Linked DNA regions of Homo sapiens: all the other regions are linked to region 1. Evidence: promoter capture Hi-C in 16 types of primary human blood cells and fetal thymus (Javierre and others, 2016). All regions are on one chromosome and are shown on one strand. Each heading gives the region's core, a stretch centred on a gene start or on the middle of the fragment in contact. The rest is flanking DNA. Distances are from core to core; before and after follow the strand shown. Region 1 holds the start of WTAP (WT1 associated protein). Region 2 holds the start of FNDC1 (fibronectin type III domain containing 1). Region 3 holds the start of RSPH3 (radial spoke head 3). Region 4 overlaps LOC124901454 (a long non-coding RNA gene).

What was found. Contacts are between HindIII fragments. The CHiCAGO score rates a contact against its expected background, and 5 or more counts as called.
Region 2: a fragment that was not itself captured here is called in contact with the fragment with the promoter of WTAP in region 1 in 1 of 17 cell types (total B cells); the score reaches 5.1 in total B cells.
Region 3: a contact is called between the fragment with the promoter of RSPH3 here and the fragment with the promoter of WTAP in region 1, in 1 of 17 cell types (neutrophils). The highest score is 5.5, in neutrophils.
Region 4: a contact is called between a fragment that was not itself captured here and the fragment with the promoter of WTAP in region 1, in 1 of 17 cell types (total CD8 T cells). The highest score is 5.8, in total CD8 T cells.

Annotation. Positions count from the first base shown.
Region 1 is chr6:159,725,334-159,729,293 of GRCh38, forward strand. WTAP (WT1 associated protein) reads left to right here and starts at 2,173. Exons shown (of 8, transcript NM_001270531.2): 1 at 2,173-2,370. It also overlaps a transcript of SOD2 not described here. RefSeq lists enhancers at 1,384-1,981, 1,462-1,551, 1,902-2,031, 1,982-2,579 and a silencer at 2,042-2,591. The HindIII fragment of the contact is 6,285 bases long and covers 1-3,960 here.
Region 2 is chr6:159,169,376-159,173,204 of GRCh38, forward strand. It overlaps FNDC1 (fibronectin type III domain containing 1), which reads left to right and starts at 25. Exons shown (of 23, transcript NM_032532.3): 1 at 25-330. The coding sequence starts at 222. It overlaps FNDC1-AS1 (FNDC1 antisense RNA 1), which reads right to left and starts at 632. Exons shown (of 4, transcript NR_121668.1): 1 at 437-632. RefSeq lists a silencer at 1-73 and an enhancer at 880-1,379. The HindIII fragment of the contact is 1,395 bases long and covers 1,084-2,478 here.
Region 3 is chr6:158,998,114-159,002,207 of GRCh38, forward strand. It overlaps RSPH3 (radial spoke head 3), which reads right to left and starts at 2,089. Exons shown (of 8, transcript NM_031924.8): 1 at 1,322-2,089. The coding sequence starts at 1,437. TAGAP-AS1 (TAGAP antisense RNA 1) reads left to right here and starts at 1,760. Exons shown (of 5, transcript NR_183546.1): 1 at 1,760-2,279. RefSeq lists enhancers at 832-1,803, 1,288-1,437, 1,458-1,507, 1,538-1,607, 1,778-1,937 and 2 more. The HindIII fragment of the contact is 7,152 bases long and covers 1-3,362 here.
Region 4 is chr6:160,521,281-160,525,421 of GRCh38, forward strand. All of the region lies in intron 1 of LOC124901454 (a long non-coding RNA gene), which reads left to right. Among named protein-coding and RNA genes, the nearest start is that of LPA, 140 kb to the right of the region's middle. The HindIII fragment of the contact is 2,551 bases long and covers 77-2,627 here.

The DNA.
Region 1 (3,960 bases), core at 923-3,422:
AGCAGGGGATGGTGGCGCATGCCTGTAATCCCAGCTATTCAGGAGGCTGAGCTGAGAGAATCGCTTGAACCCAGGAGACAGAGGTTGCAGTGAGCTGAGATTGCACCACTGCACTCCAGCCTGGGCAACACAGTGAGACTGTCTCAAAAAAAAAAAAAAAAACCCAAAGAATAATTATTTTTTCTGTGTATCTTAGTTATATTAGTTAACAGTTAAGTTCATTTGTTTCAATTTGCTTTCAACCTTAGGATTTACTTTGTTTCCTTTTTTATTTACTTTTTTGGCTATGTAAAACTAAAAGTTCAAAGACAGAGAAATCTTGTCTCCACCCCCCACTCTTTATAGGCAACTAAAAATGTTAAGTTTCCAGGATATCCTTCCAATTCCTCCCCGAAAATAAGCATATACACATAAATATTCATATTAAATATAAATATATATTTTTATGTATTTAAGTAAATACATAAAAGCATATATGCTTATTTTTGCTTTTGAATACAGTGAATACTTACTACACTTAAATATTTAAGTGAATACTTAATACAACCTGAGACTCATTCCAAAGCAACACACGATTATTTCCTGAATCTTTTTAATGGTTGCATTGTGTTCTACTGTATGGATGCACCATTCCCAATCAGTTCCCTATTAACGGATATTTGGGTTATCCCTAACTTTTGCTATGACAAATAGCACTGCAATAACCTTGTATACCTATTGTTTCCATGTGTGGAGCTGCACCTTCAGAATAAGGTTAGGGTTAGAAGTATAACTGCAAGGTATAAGAATAAACACAAGTAATTTTGTACTCCGTGGAACTTGAACCATTTTTCCACTCCCACCAGGAAAGGTAATTTCAACGTGTATTTCCATTGTAAGTGAGGTGGAGCGACTTTCTATGTTTAAAGACCATTACGGTATTTTTTCTGAGAATCATCTGTTCATGTCCTTCCCCATTTTCTCCTTTGGCTTTTGCACTTTTTGTTTTCAATTTTTGAGAGCTCTTGTGATACGAGTTGCAAAGATTTTCTCCAGACCGATCTGATTCACTGGAAATATACTACGACCATCTGGAATGTACTTTAATCTTATCCTAATAAATCACCTTACTACAAGACACTCCTTTGGGGATGAACAGGTTTGATAAAGCCGGCTAAGGACAGACCAATCAAAAGAATTACGTGCTCTTCTAGTAAGTGTTTAGAGACTGTTTCACGTTCTCCAGGTAACACCGCCATTACTCGGCGGTCCAGATGGCAGTCTTACTTCAGGGAGTCTACTCCACTTGCAGGACCTCTTTGATTGAGTTCACTAAACCTCACAGGGCCGCCTTCCCCGTGTTCCAGTTAGCAAGGGGCCCTCAACGCCGCGGACACAGCGCAACCTCCGACGCCAGAGAACAATAGCTCCTCGATGCGTCTCCAGAGATGTCAAGGAGGAACGAACCCAGCGGCCAGGAGACTGCGCCTCACGACTGATGAGAGGGAAGGCATCGGTTTCTAAGTTCTCAAAACTTACAGGTGAGCTTCTGCTAAGAGTAAACGCCCGCGGCTCGCCGCCCACGGCCTCTCTCTTGAGGTGGCACCTGGTCCTCCGACACGCGGAAGCATCACGGATGAGCGTCACGAACACAGAGCGGCCAATCACGCGCCGCCTTCGCCCAGATCCCTCCGCACGAGGCAGCCCCGCAGCCGCAGGTGGCCCCGGCGAGTACTTCCACCTTCCCTTCCCGTGATGCCCTGGGGCTGACCTCCGACCTCGCTGGCCCGCCCCTCCCCTCGGCCGCTTCCCTTACTGAGCTTGCTGAGCTCCGGGGCCCGCGGAGCTCGCGCCAGGCTCCTGGGAAAGGACGGGGAGTGTTACCGGGGAGCAGCTGCTCCATTGTGCCTCGAGGCCCCGATCGGGCTAGGCCGACGGCCTCCCTCCCTTCACCTTTCCTCTCCTGGCGGGGTTCGGCGGCGGGCGAGTGACTGCGGCCACGCCTGAAAGGCGACTCTCCTGTGAGTGGGCCAGAAGGCGAACATGGCGGAGCGGGGAGGCTGGCGGGAGGCGGGAGGCGGGAGGCGGGAGGCAGTGGCGCTGGCCTGCGGCGCGTTCGGACCGGCTGTGGGGCGGGGCAGGGCGGAGCGGAGCCGTGCGGCGGGGCGGGGCCGGGCGGCGGGGCCTGGTTTCCTCCCTCAGCGCCATTTTGTGGCAGCGAGACCCACAAATAAAGGGGAGCGCAGGGGTTGCGGCGGGACTAGGAGCGCGGCGGGGCCGGCGGCAGAGCTGTCCGGCTGCGCGGTGGCCCGGGGGGCCCGGGCGGCAGGGCAAGCAGCGCGGCCTCGGCCTATGCGACCGGTGGCGCCGGCGCGGCTTCTGCCTGGAGAGGTAGGCGCGGGCCGGCTGGCGGGAGCGGACGCGGGGGACCTCCGGGGCCTGAGGGCTGATGCGCAGCCGCCCCCGGCGGGTAAGGGGCGGGCAGGGCCCGAAAGGCCACACGGGCCTGGTGCGGCACCGGTCTCTCGTGAGCCGCTCTACCTTCCCGCCTGCGGGGAACACTTCCGCCGCTTCGAGGCCATTTTATCTCTGTCCTCCGTCCCCAAGGCCCGGGTTGAGAGGGGTGCTCTGGCGGCCGGAGAGACCGGCCACTCACGGAGGCCGGAGGATGCCCTCCCCGGGCTGAGCGGCGGCGCTCGTTTTTTCCTCGCCTCGGGGTCGCCCCCTTCACCTCCCTTGGGCCTCTCCTGAGGACCTGGCGGCACTAACGAGTTCAGCAAGGAAAAAAAGAAACATTCGTTCCCTACATTTCATGTCACGCAGTAGGATGTTACTACGTTCTCTTGTAGACTTCCATTTTTAAATGAGTATAAGCATTCTGAGGAAAGAAACTGAATTATTGCAGATTTTTGTGAAATCCAAGTCTTACCTTGGATCCCTGTGAGACAGTTACTAGATTTTTTTTTCACCGTTTTTCATAAGTCTGTGTACACGTAATGGAAAAGCCCGAGTTCTTGTTTTGATAAGAAAGTCACTTGGTTGTTTGATCCCAAAGGATTAGCTTAACATTATCAAGGACTAGCATAACTGTGATTATGTAAAAAAAACAAAACAAAACAAAAAAACTATTATTTAGTCTGGTAGGGAAATACTTCTATGAGTATGTTACAATTGGAAGTTGTATTTGTGCCTATTTTATCTAGTTTTAGTTAATTCCATTGCTTCGGAAGATAAGTGGACGTCATAGATCCATCGCAAGTTCTCGTTTTTTGGATTTTAAAATTTTGACCATTAAGTTTTCTACGATAGATAAACATGTTGTGGACATTTAAAACCGTAATTTAAAACTATGAGCGAAAAATCTTTTCAAGATGGATACATTTTAATTCATTCAAGTAGCATCTGATTAGCCAAGTCGGGGAAAGATTGCAGTCCGCAAAGCTGGCTTGTGATAAGGTTGAGGTTACATTTTAAGGGTTTGGGTAGGTGTGTTTCTTACAGTGCTTTTATATGTTAAGGTATCTTAAGCAGACACATGGTTTAAAAGTTCAGTATTTTTAGTACTTTTTCATTGGCAGAATTTGGACAAGCTACCAGAATTGCTAACTCCTAAAGGATAAAAGTAATAATAATAGTGTGTCCCAGGCACTGCTTATTTTTACATGGCTCTTTTATGTCTAGCTTTTCCAATTCAACGTTGAGTCATGTTTGCTGAAAATATTTTTGTGTATTGTTTGTCAGAAATAAGCTGGTAGAGATGAAACACAATGTGTAAAAAGCCCTGTGATGTGGAGATGAGCATTGTCACAATTTGTACAGTACATTAAAGCGTTCAAGGTCTCTTATGGTCTTGTATGTAGTATTGAATCCCCTTGAATATATTGTTTAGCAGTTTTGATCATTATGTATTTGCTTCTTGCTCCTCAAAATTGTACGTTAGTTAGTAGGTCCTTCAGCAAAAGAAGACTGAAGATAGTATTT
Region 2 (3,829 bases), core at 531-3,030, 560 kb before region 1:
GCTCGGCGGGAGGTCGGCGGCCTCAGTGGCGGAGCGCGGCTGCCGGTGTGCGGCCGGGAGCGATCGCCGCGGGGCAGGGGCGCGGCGGGCACCGCGCAGAGCGCGCAGAACAGACGGACGGCGGCGGGGACCCGACGGCGGCGCCTCGGCACTCCCCAGACTCCGGCCAGCGCCCCCCTGCCAGCCGCAAGCACCCAGCCCCGGCCCACCCCGGGCTCTCGATGGCCCCCGAGGCCGGGGCGACCCTGCGCGCGCCGCGCCGGCTGTCCTGGGCGGCGCTGCTGCTCTTGGCCGCGCTGCTCCCCGTCGCCTCCTCGGCGGCGGCCTCAGGTACGCGCCGCGCCCGGGCCCCCGGCGCTCCTCAGCTCCCCGCGCACCCTCCTGCGCTCGGGCCCCGTCGTCCCGCTCAGTGCTGGCTACGGGTCGTGTCACTAGCCTGTGCGTCCTCGTCACTCGCGGGTCGGGGCACTTGGCGCCCTGTGTGGGTGGCGGGAGCGGGGACGCCTCGGTGCCCGGGGACCGCAGCGCGCTGGCGTTTAACTTTGCCGTCGCCCGCCTTGGAGTCGGGAGGCTCCAGCCGTCTAAGTGTCCCGGGAGATTCAGGCACAGCGGGGAAAAAAGGAAAAGAAAGGCGACTTTCAGCGTGCGGACTGGGGTAATGCCTTTCTTTGCCCAGAATTTCTCGGGAGCGTAGGTGGTCATCCTACTTTCTCCGCGTTCACCTCTCGCGAGGCAGGATGACGGGCGCACTCGGGAGACCGGAGGGAGGCAGAGCAGGGCTGTTCTAGAAGGTCGTGGGGGAAAGGCTGCGAGCTGCCGCAGGGCGTCGGGTGCCTCTGCGCTCCAGAGGAGAAGCGCTCCAGTGCCAGCTCGGCTCCAGGCGGCAGGAGGCCCGCGCGCCCGGGGGGAACGTTCAAGCTGGGAGAAAATGTTTGTCTTGAGAGGAGGGAGAGGGAAATGAGAAAGCTGATTCCAGAGAAACTCGCCCTTCCCCAATGGCTGAGGCTGCAGCCAGGATGGATGCTTCCTTTGAGAGCAATGCTTTTCAGAAAATGCTAGCGCGCTCCTGTCAGATTTCTTGCAAGCTTCCTGCAGAGAGAGACAAGTTTGTGGCGAGGTTTTCATTCCTAAGCCTTTGGCGGCCCTTGTTACCACCTCCTTTGCAGGCATTTTTACACTTGAAACTGGCTTTTAGGTTATTGGTTTGTAGAAATCCAAGAAGCAGACAATGATCGTCAGATACTATTCCAACGAGGGTACCAGTTTTATGATGCTATTTAGTGTATATATTGTTCTCTTACTTCAGGGGTAAAGGAAGAAAAGTTGGGGATCACATTACTTTGTGACTTTTTGGTAGATACATCATCCCAATGCTTGGCTCAGGTTTATGCGAGGTATTCTGATGCCAATGCCACTTTCTCATAAAAGGCAGTGCCTGCCGTAGGGTCTTTTTCTTCCCATTAGTGAACTCTAGGAAAGTATTCACTGAATACTTTGCACAGTACTTGAGAGGAATAAAACTAAATAAAGTCTTCCAACTTCCCCACCTACAACTCCTGGCTTTTGTTTTTCTAAGTGAAAATTTTCAGAGTGCTGGAAGAGTTTTTGTTTCTGAAAATGATCTGAAACTGGAACCAGTGCTGCCCTGGCTTTGTGGCGATTCCAGCCTTCTGCTTTTCCGATTCCTCTGCCACCTGCCCGTGGGTTGCATGTGAGTGGGTCCGAGCGGGGTTGTTTGTGAGAGCTCCTGGAATCCCACCGCGATCTGCACTCTTGCTTTTTCGCCTTCTGCTCTGTGAATCACTGTGCTGAGGAATGCTGGGGCTGGACAGCTTCCCAGCCCTTCTCTCTACTGTGTTGACGTGGGATCTACAGTCAAATGATGACCAGACTAGAGGTGGACAAAGGAGGACAGGCACATTTCAGAATGAAATCTACTAAATTTAAATTAAGTAATAGAAGGATAGAAACAGACATAGCAACCTGTAGATAGCTCCCCATGCTGTGGATGAAATTATGGGGTACATAACTTCTTTCATGGGCTCCCTTTGACAGCAACGTCATGGATAGACTGCTCCCTCTCTCTGGTTGAACTAATGCATGGACCAAGCGAGCTGCTTGTGTCAAGCTCTCCCCTTCACCACCCTTTTGGGGCCAGAATCTCTGTAAGGAAATTACCCACGGCCACATAATAGTGGCTCCGAGGGACTTTGCTTAAAGCAGGACACACTGAAGATCTGGATAAGCCCTTCAGTGTAGGGTCAATTAAACATAAAACAAAATAAGCAAGCAGTGTCCCCTCCTCCACTCATATTCATCCCTACAATAGGATACTATGCAAACATTAAAATTATGATGGCCTTGCCAGTCTGGTATGATACATTTTTCTAAACACATGTGGATGTACTCACACATGCACATATTTGCAGTGGGTATCTTAGGATGGTTAGGGATGATTTTTATTTTCTTCTTTAAAGAAGCTTTTAGGGAATTTTCCATGTCAAAACTATTTTCAAAGTAATACTAAGATTACTAAGATGCTATTTTCCTTTTTCACAGTTGACATTTGCACTGAGGGTGCAAAAGCTTGATGGGTAAACTGCGGGTGTCTTACTGAGAATCAAGGCAGGGACATCACCATGCACTAGTAGTCTTTGAATTTTGGGGGGACTTTGCAGTTAAAAAAAATTTGCCAGTTTCATTAAGAATGTTCTTGATGCCACAGTAAAATTATTAATTTTACCAAATCTTTGTATCTTTGAGTGTATGTCTTTTTAATAGTGTAAATAAATGGGAAGGACACATAAGTTACTACTGCTGATGACCAAGTTCAGTGGCAACCCCAGGGGGAAGCACTGGTGTGATTGTTTGTGTTATGCATTAAGCTAGCTGGTTTTTTAAAATGGAATGTGGTATTTACCACAAAGAATGACAACAGACAAACTAGAGCTATTCTGACTTGGGTATTTGGCCGATGTTTTCTCAAAAATGAACAAAGGGAACTTGCTACTTCTAGTAAAATAACTGCTATTATTGCTTGCCAATGATAACATTTCAGCTTTCAAGTGAAAATCAGAATTTTGCCAAGTTGTTTCCACCACTGTAAGCTTGAAAGTTTCCCAATATTTAAATTTTTTTCTAGTGAGATCAATGGTGATATAAATGAATGTGATTTGTAAATGTCATCTCATAAAATGTGTCAACATTTGGATGATCTGCATAACCAAATAAACCAATAGATCCAAATGACCAGTGTATAGCCTTACAACAATCTTGCATGGGTAAAAGGTCTGTTCAAAGTGCATGATAGCCCAATGGATTTTTAATGTAACAAAATATGAAAAATTCTTCATATGATTTCAGATTCTAAGAATTGGCTACTTGATGAATTTTGGTGTAATATCAAAGATTTTTCAAAATTATCCAAAAAGGCTATTGAAATAGTTGTCCAGCTACACATCTGTGTGAGGCTGGGTTTTCTCCAAGCAAAACGACATATTGCAATAGATTGAATGCATAAGCAGATCGGAGATATTCTATTAAAAAGATTTGCCAAAATGTAGAAACAAAGCTGCTCTTCTCACTCATTTCTCTTTGTTTTGGGAAACAGTTACTTTTCATATAAATATATTTGTATGTCAACATGTAATGGTTTATTATTGTTTTTTAAAATAAATAAGTACATATTTTCGTTTTAATTCCCAGTAAAGTCAATAAGGATAGATAAAACTCACAGAAACATAACCTCCTTGGCATCCTCGTAAATTTAAGAATAGAAGATAATTCAGACACCAAAATGTTTGAGACACACTGGTATATACGGAGGGAA
Region 3 (4,094 bases), core at 839-3,338, 730 kb before region 1:
AAGAACTTTAGAGAACCGTTTAACTTTAAGAGAACTTTAAGAGTTTATGTTTTTTTTGCTGGGTGTGGTGGCTCAGGCCTGTAATCCCAGCATTTTGGGAGGCCGAGGCGGGCGGATCATGAGGTCAGGAGATCGAGAGTATCCTGGCTAACATGGTGAAACCCCGTCTCTACTAAAAAAATACAAAAAAAAAAAAAAAAAAAAAAAGAGCCGGGCGTGGTGGCGGGCGCCTGTAGTCCCAGCTACTTGGGAGGCTGAGGCAGGAGAATGGCGTGAACCCGGGAGGTGGAGGTTGCAGTGAGCCGAGATTGTGCCACTGCACTCCAGCCTGGGCGACAGAGCGAGACTCCGTCTCAAAAAAAAAAAAAGAAAAAAAAAAAGGCTTATGTTTTGTTTTTTTTCTTTCCTATGTATGTTTGAATATTTGCAACTGTTCATGGATGTAAAAACACAAACTGCCGTCCGGGCGCGGTGGCTCACGCTTGTAATCCCAGCACTTTGGGAGGCCGAGGCGGGCGGATCACTTGAGGCCAAGAGTTTGAGACCAGCCTGGCCAACGTGGCAAAACCCTGTCTCTACTAAAAATACAAAGATTAGCCGGGGGTGGTGGAGGGCGCCTCTAGTCCCAGCTACTTGGGAGGCTGAGGCAGGAGAATCGTTTGATCGGGGAGGAGTGGGGGAGGGGGGCGGAGGTTGCAGTGAGCGGAGATCGCGTCATTGCAGTCCAGCCTGGGCGACAAGAGCGAAACTCCGTCTCAAAACAACAACAGCAACCACCACCACCACCACCACCACCACCACAAAAAACCAATCTGTGGTCCTGCATGGAAGAATAATCTTACTCCTGCTCAAAGCCTGCCGAAGAGATTTACTCGGCTCCCATTTTGGATATGCTACTGTTGGATATCTTTGCACCGCGGTCTCCTCATCTGCATAATGGAGTTATAAAATCAACTTCACAGCACTGTGGATTAACTAAGAAAACGTATTTGAATGCCCCCCGTAAGGTGCTCAGCACGTAGTTGGCCCTCAATACACACTGGTACAATTCAAACTTTGTGAAATGAGCCAATTCGTGTACATGTTAAGGACCACGGCAGCAACTCATATCACTAAAAGTTAACTGATGCCCAACCCATGCCCCTTCCTGCTTCACTCCTCCACACCACGGGAGATTCCTTAGGGCAGAACTTTTATTTCGGCAGAGTGCAGCCAAGGGAAGACAGCATAAGCAGCTTTTTTGCCAGGGCGAAGGGGCCAGACCCCGGCCTGGGGATGGGGTGCAAGTATGGACCACACAGGGGCTGGCTTGGTCACTCACGGCTGCGTCAGGCTGTCCCGGTAACGGCTGCGCTGGCAGGGCAGTGCTCGGGGCCGGCTGGTGTAGGTGTAGGTGCTCGGGGCCCGAGAGGTGCGATCAGTCAGCGCTGAGGCCATGTCCGGGGGCTGACTGCCTCGCTTTCGGTGGAGCTTGGCTTTGAAGCAGGTGGGCGCTAAGGTGTTGTGGGACCCGGAGAGATGTAAGTAGTGCCAAGGGCAAGGATTCCGCGACGCGAGGAGAGGCGACAACAAGGGAGGCGGGCGGGACGGGAGGTTACCAGCGCAGGAGGTGGGAGCTATACTGGGCTCGCTCCCAGCACCACAGAGACCAGCTGCGGGGGCCGCATCGGTTGCCCAGCAACCCAGGGTTCTGTCTGGGGGCGGGAACTCCGGGCAGTTCCGGTCCCCAGGTTTCCCGGGAAGGACTGCGGCACAAGGGACTTCCGGCTCTTGACTCCGCCCAGCCGCGCCACCCAGGTAGGTGCGCCTGCGCTTTGCGAGGTTCCTGGCTAGGGAGGCGGCCTTGGCTGGCTTGACCGTCATCCTTGAGGCCTGCGGGGCAACGGTGGCTGTCCTTGGCCCGGCTTTGGAATGTGGCTTTGCAGGGCTGGTGTTGGCGCCATTCTCGCAGGCCCACGTGCTCCTGCTCTTCCAGGGTGTCCTCGGCTGTTTCTCCTGCCGCGGCGCAGCAGCGCTCCCAGGCTGCCCCCGCGATAACACGCCCCTGGCAGCCAGGCTCCCAGCTCTGTTACGTGCCCGGGCGGGGAAGAGCTTCCTGGTGTCTCCCGGCTCCTGCCCTTCTCCCGCCCCAGGGGCGGGCTGCCGCCGCCCTCTGCAGCTGAGTCAGTGCAGTTCCTCACCTACCTTCTCTGCTCACCGCTGTGTGCTAGCAATCGGAGGACCCTTGGCACACGGAGCGACAGGGGCCTCCCCCACAGACACCTCATTTTGGGAAAGAAGTGAGCAATTTATTGAGTCTTAAAAAATACAAAGGCATAGTTCCCCTTAATCTATCAGGCTTCCAGCTCTAAAGAATGTCTCTAGTATTGCGGGGTGGGGCTGCGCTTAAAAACGCAGACGCTTTGGTTTTAGTACCAGCAACGTTAAAAATCTTCTATCTTGTATGAGTGAATGTGTATCCCTTGTGATCAGTTATTTGCATTTGCAGTTACACCTTCATTCAGCTAATTGCTGTCTTGATTTGAATCCAGGTTCTAGAATGTACTAGCTCCGAAACCTCAGGCAAGTTAAATGTTTTTGTGCTTCATTTTCCTAATCCACAAAGTGGCAATAGAAGAATTTATCTCTTTAGGTTTTGTCTTGAGGATTAAAACCGTTAATACTTAGAGCTGTGCCTGGTAAATGGCAAGCCTTTATATTAAGATCTGGACCGTTCTGTGCTTTGAAGTGTATGACCTAAAGCAGATGTAGGCATTCTATAAGTAACACTAGCATAAAGGTGTATGGTAAATTCTAGAGGTGAAAACACTCCCAACATATTTTAGGTCTGATCATTTAATTTTGAGGTAATTTCTGAAAGGGCTAGAGGAGAAAGTGACATTTAAGTTGTGTTTGATAAATGATAGTATTTTAACTGGCCAGCCTCTTGGGGGAAGTGCATTCGGAATGGCTTGATCAAAGGCTCAAGAAGCCCAAGGTGCATTTGGAAAACTGTAAGCAAGGTTTGTGTAGATGAGTTGTAGAAATATATATAGACAGGCTGACACCACATCGTGGAAACAGTAAACACTAGCATATTAATTAGAATATTTTTTCCCTCAAGTAACAAAAAACCAATTCCAAGTGGCTGAAATAATAAGGAATTCATTATTTTACACTCCCCAGGTTGGTTAACCTGGAGGGTAACTTGGGGGCTCAGCACATTATCAACAACACGTTTTTTCCCCTACCTTTCCACTCTGTCACCTGGGTTGTTGGCTTCAACAAAGTAGTAATAGAAGTATCTGCTCTTTTGTCTTTATTGGAAGAGCAAAACCCCCTCGTAAACTCCCAACTGACCAGAATTACATCATATTGATTTAAGCTTAGGATCTATATAAGACCACCATATTTGGATTAGACCAGGTAACCGGTCTTTCTAGGCCTCCAAGAAACACTTGGCCAGGGAGGAGGAGAACAAATTCTGTTAGGAGGATGTTGGGGCAGAATTGAGTGGGTATTAAGTGGGTAAACAATAGTGCTATACCAGCCACAGTGGGCTTTATAAAGAAATTGATAGCCACTATAGGTTCTTGTACAAGTTTCTTTCTTTTTTTTTTTTTTTAGATGGAGTCTCGCTCTGTGGCCAGGCTGGAGTGCAGTGGCGCGATCTTGGCTCACTGCAACCTCCGCCTCCCCGGTTCAAGTGGTTCTCCTGCCTCAGCCTCCTGAGTAGCTGGGACTACAGGCGTGTGCCACCCCGTCCAGCTAATTTCTGTATTTTTAGTAGAGGCGGGGTTTCACCATGTTGGCCAGGATGGTCTTGTTCTCTTGACCTGGTGATCCGCCCTCCTCAGCCTCCCAAAGTGTTGGGATTACAGGCGTGAGCCACTGTGCCTGGCCTGTACAAGTTTTTATCCACAGCCTGTTTCTCTTCTTGTACTTTCTCCCAGGGCAGTCCCATTTCACGTCTGTAATTTCTAGTACCACCTATATACTCAGGGTAGCAAAGGATGTATCTCTAACCTAGACTTCTCCCTCAGGTGACAGTCCTGGATATCTGACTATTTTGTGGACAACTCTTGGATGATCTGAAACTGAAAGATTCATTCCAC
Region 4 (4,141 bases), core at 102-2,601, 800 kb after region 1:
CTCTGATTTAAAGAAGTAATAAAGGAGAAATCTTTTTGCTATATTTTACTTTTATCCTCCACTATTCTGAAGTTTAAGCTTCAATAATTAATATAAGTACAGTAAAATTAATATTTTAAAGGTAGCTGATATGCTTGATAACCAGAAAATATTTCATTTTTTAAAAATTCTATTTCATCTACTAATTTGATCCATATGATCCATATGCAAGGGTATGTAAAAGTCTATATATAGTCATATGACAAAGGTATATGGTGTATTGAATTTATACTTTTATTGTTCATCACTAAGACCCTTTTTTACTTTAAAAGTGGGTTATATAGACCTGTGAAACATGCAACAAAAATGAAAACACTGCACCTTTTTGTGGTTCTGTAAACACACAAGAAAAGTGGAGGTCAGGATCCATGCTGTTGGCCAGGTATTAAGTTGGCGTTATCAGCAATCACTGTAGTCTCTGTGAGTGCTGATGAATCTGAATGTCATGCCTTGGGAATTGCTTTTTTGACTAGATTACTGGTTTGAGGTTGTTGCCGTTGTGTTTTTTGTAAGAGTAGAAATTCACAAGTGCACAACGTTGGATTTAGGTAAGTGGAAATTTAATGCAATCACAGCAGTGCCTCATACAAAGAAAGTGATCAACAAATGTAGCCATGATAAGGGTCACTCGCTAGGCCAGTTGTCACCTACCCCTCTGCTGGATGACAGCCCTTCTGCATCTGCACTCAGCTCCCGCGTTTCCGGAGCTTCTCTTCTCAGACCATGCAGTGCCCAGAGCTTCAGATCTGTCCATATCCTTCATCAACACCTCCTGAAAGTATGAGACCTTGCAGAGGCCCATGTCTTCCAGGTGTTGCCAAGACAGCTGAGACAGAGCCCTGGAGTCCTTTCTTATCATCCCTTGATCAGGGTGTCTTATATCTGTTAATTCTACAAATAGCCATTTTTTTAAATGTCATTTATTTTAAACCAGTAGCTCAGCTGTCCTGTGCCAGCTCCACACCCTCAACTCTACAGCTGATTACACAGTTCATTATTATGCTAATTTAAGAAATGTTAAATATATGCAAACCTACAGAGGGAACAAACACTGTAGCAACTTACCAACTTTCCCACAACCTGCAGTTAACAATTGTGAACAGTTTGTCATTTTAACTTTTCCCCAGTCCCTGGAATTTCCTCATCTCTAACCCAGTCTCCCTCAACCACTCATGATGAAGTGTGTACCCATCCAATCTGTTTTGGAACATTTTAAAATTATTTTACTTGGTTTTTTTTAAATCAGCTTTATATATGCACATAGTTTAAAGAGTCAAAAAGTTCTGTCCAGGCATGGTGGCTCACACCTGTAATCATAGCAATTTGGAAGGCCGAGGCAGGAGGATCATGAGTCCAGGAGCTTGAGACCAGATTGGCCAACATGGTGAAACTTCATCTCTAATAAAAATAAAAAAAAATTAGCTGGATATAGCAGCCCATATCTGTAATCCTAGCTACTTGGGAGGCTGAGGCACGGGAATTGCTTGAACCCAAGAGGCAGAGGTTGCGGTGAGCCAAGACTGCACCACTGCACTCCAGCCTGGGTGACAGAAGGAGACTCTGTCTCAAAAAAAAAAAAAAAAAGAAAAAAAGTAAAAAGTTCTGTTTTTACAGAATTACTGCGTTTCCTTCTCTCCAGAGGCAAACACTTCCAATTCTTTATTTCATTTATTTTTGAGATGGAGTTTTGCTCTGTCACCCAGGCTGGAGTGCAGTGGCACGATCTCGGTTCACTGCAACCTTCACCTCCCTGGTTCAAGCGATTCTCCTGCCTCAGCCTCTTGAGTAGCTGGGACTACGGCGTCCACCACCAGGCCTGGCTAATTTTTGTATTTTTAGTAGAGACTGGGTTTCACCATGTTGGCCAGGCTGGTCTCAAACTCCTGACCTCAGGGCGATCCACCCACCTCCGCCTCCCAAAGTGCTGGGATTACAGGCCTGAGCCACCGCACCCGGCCACCTCCAATTCTTTCAACTGATCCTATTGGCATTTACCTTCAGCTCTCTAAATAACTTTCTGACTGTGGTACTTCTTTTTTCAGTTTTAGTCATTACCTATTGATATGGTTTCGATCTGTGTTCATGCCCAAATTTCAAGTCAAATTGTAATCCTTAGTGTGGAGGCGGGGTCTGATGGGAGGTGATTGGCTCATAGGGCAGTAACTCATGAATGGTTTAGCACCTTCTCCAGGTGCTGTTCTCCTGATAGTGAGTTCTCAGGAGATCTGGTTGTTTAAGTGTGTGTGGTACCTCCCCCACCCTTGCTCCTGCTCCTGCCATATGAGAAGTGTTTTCCATTTTTAAAATTATAGACATTTAAATTATAGACATTTTAATGGATATGAAGTCTTATTTCATTGTGATTTTATTGGCATACACAGCATACACATACCGTCCACATACCACACACATACACTTCACACACCGTACATACTACATACACCCACACATCCTTTTGCCATATGTACCTAAAATAATTATGTAATTATATTGTAATTTTGGTTAAGTAAATATTCAGTGTTTATGTAACTGAGGCCTGTAGTATCCTTTTATATTTCTCCCTAGAATTCATTATTTTCTTTTCTGTAAGCTTTTATGTCTGTTTCCTAATTCCACTCCAAATTCTCAGTTATATACCTTTTCAATATGCCCCCAAACCAATCAGGCCATCTAGCGTTTTTCTTCCAGAGAGCTCCTCGGGAACCACCGGCTCTGCTCTGGTGTGGCCTGGGTGCACAGCCGGCCTGCTGTGCAGTTGTGGGATCTCCATGGACTGTCATCCAGAAGACCCCCTTTCCTCTCTGATATTTGATCCCGTTTCATGGATCCCACATCTTCCTTTTTAAAAAAAGTTACTTCCTCATTTTGCCAAAGCAAATATTCTAGTATCATCCTTAGAAAGGATACATGGAAGGTATTTTTTAATTGAAGTGAAATTCTCATAAGAAAAGTAGCAGTCTTATAGTGAACAATGCGTTGTATTTAGTATGTTCACATTGGCAACCACCACCTCCATCCAGTTCCAAAACATTTTCATGACCCCAAAGCACAATGCAGTACCCAATAAGCTGGTACTTTCCATGACCCCATCCCAGCCCTTGCTTTCAAGTTTCAGCCATGTAGCGGATACCAGTACTTCATTCCTTTTTGTAGCTGTATAAACCACAATTTGTTTATCCCCTCATCTATTGATTGACATTTGGGTGTGGCTGTTGTAACAGTGCTGCTATGAACATTCTCATGCAAGGTATCTGTTTGGGCACTTGTTTTCAATTCTTGTATATATACACCTAAGAGTAAAATTGTTAGATCACATGGTAATTCTATGTTTAGCATTTTAAGGAACTGTCAAATTGTTTTCCACAGTGGCCAAACCATTTTCCCTGTACATTCCCACCAGCAATATACAGGATTCTAATTTCTCCACATCCTCACAAATGCTTGTTATTTTCCATTTTTTAAATTATAGACATTTTAATGGATATGAAGTCTTATTTCATTGTGATTTTATTGGCATTTTCTTAATGACTAATGATGTTGACCATCATTTCATGTACTTATTGCCTATTTGTATATCTTTTTTGGAAAAAATGTCTATTCACGTTCTTGTTTTTCTTTTTATTGTTGAGTTGTAAGAGTTCTTTTTTTTTTTTTTAACTCATTTCCCATTTGCCCCAAGAATACTATGCAGGCAGCAAGCTACATATTTTCTTTTTCTAAATAAGAAGTGGGTTAAGAGATGGCAGTCTCACTCTGTCACGCAGCCTGGAGGGCAGTGGCCCAATCATAGCTCACTGCAGTGTCGAACTCCCAGGCTCAAGTGATCCTCCCACCTTGGCCTCCCCAAGTGCTGGGATTACAGGTGTGAGCCACTGCTCCCAGCCTAGAGATCTTAATATATTCTGGACACCAGGCCTTTGTCAATAGGTTTGCTTCATCAGTAGGTTGCTTTTCACTTTCTTGATAATGTCATTTGACACATAATAGCTTTTAATTTTTTTCATTACTTTTCAATTATTTTTTCCAGTTTTATTGAGGTACACTTCACAAATAAAAATTATATATATTTAAGATGTACAATGTAATGCCTTAATATAGATGT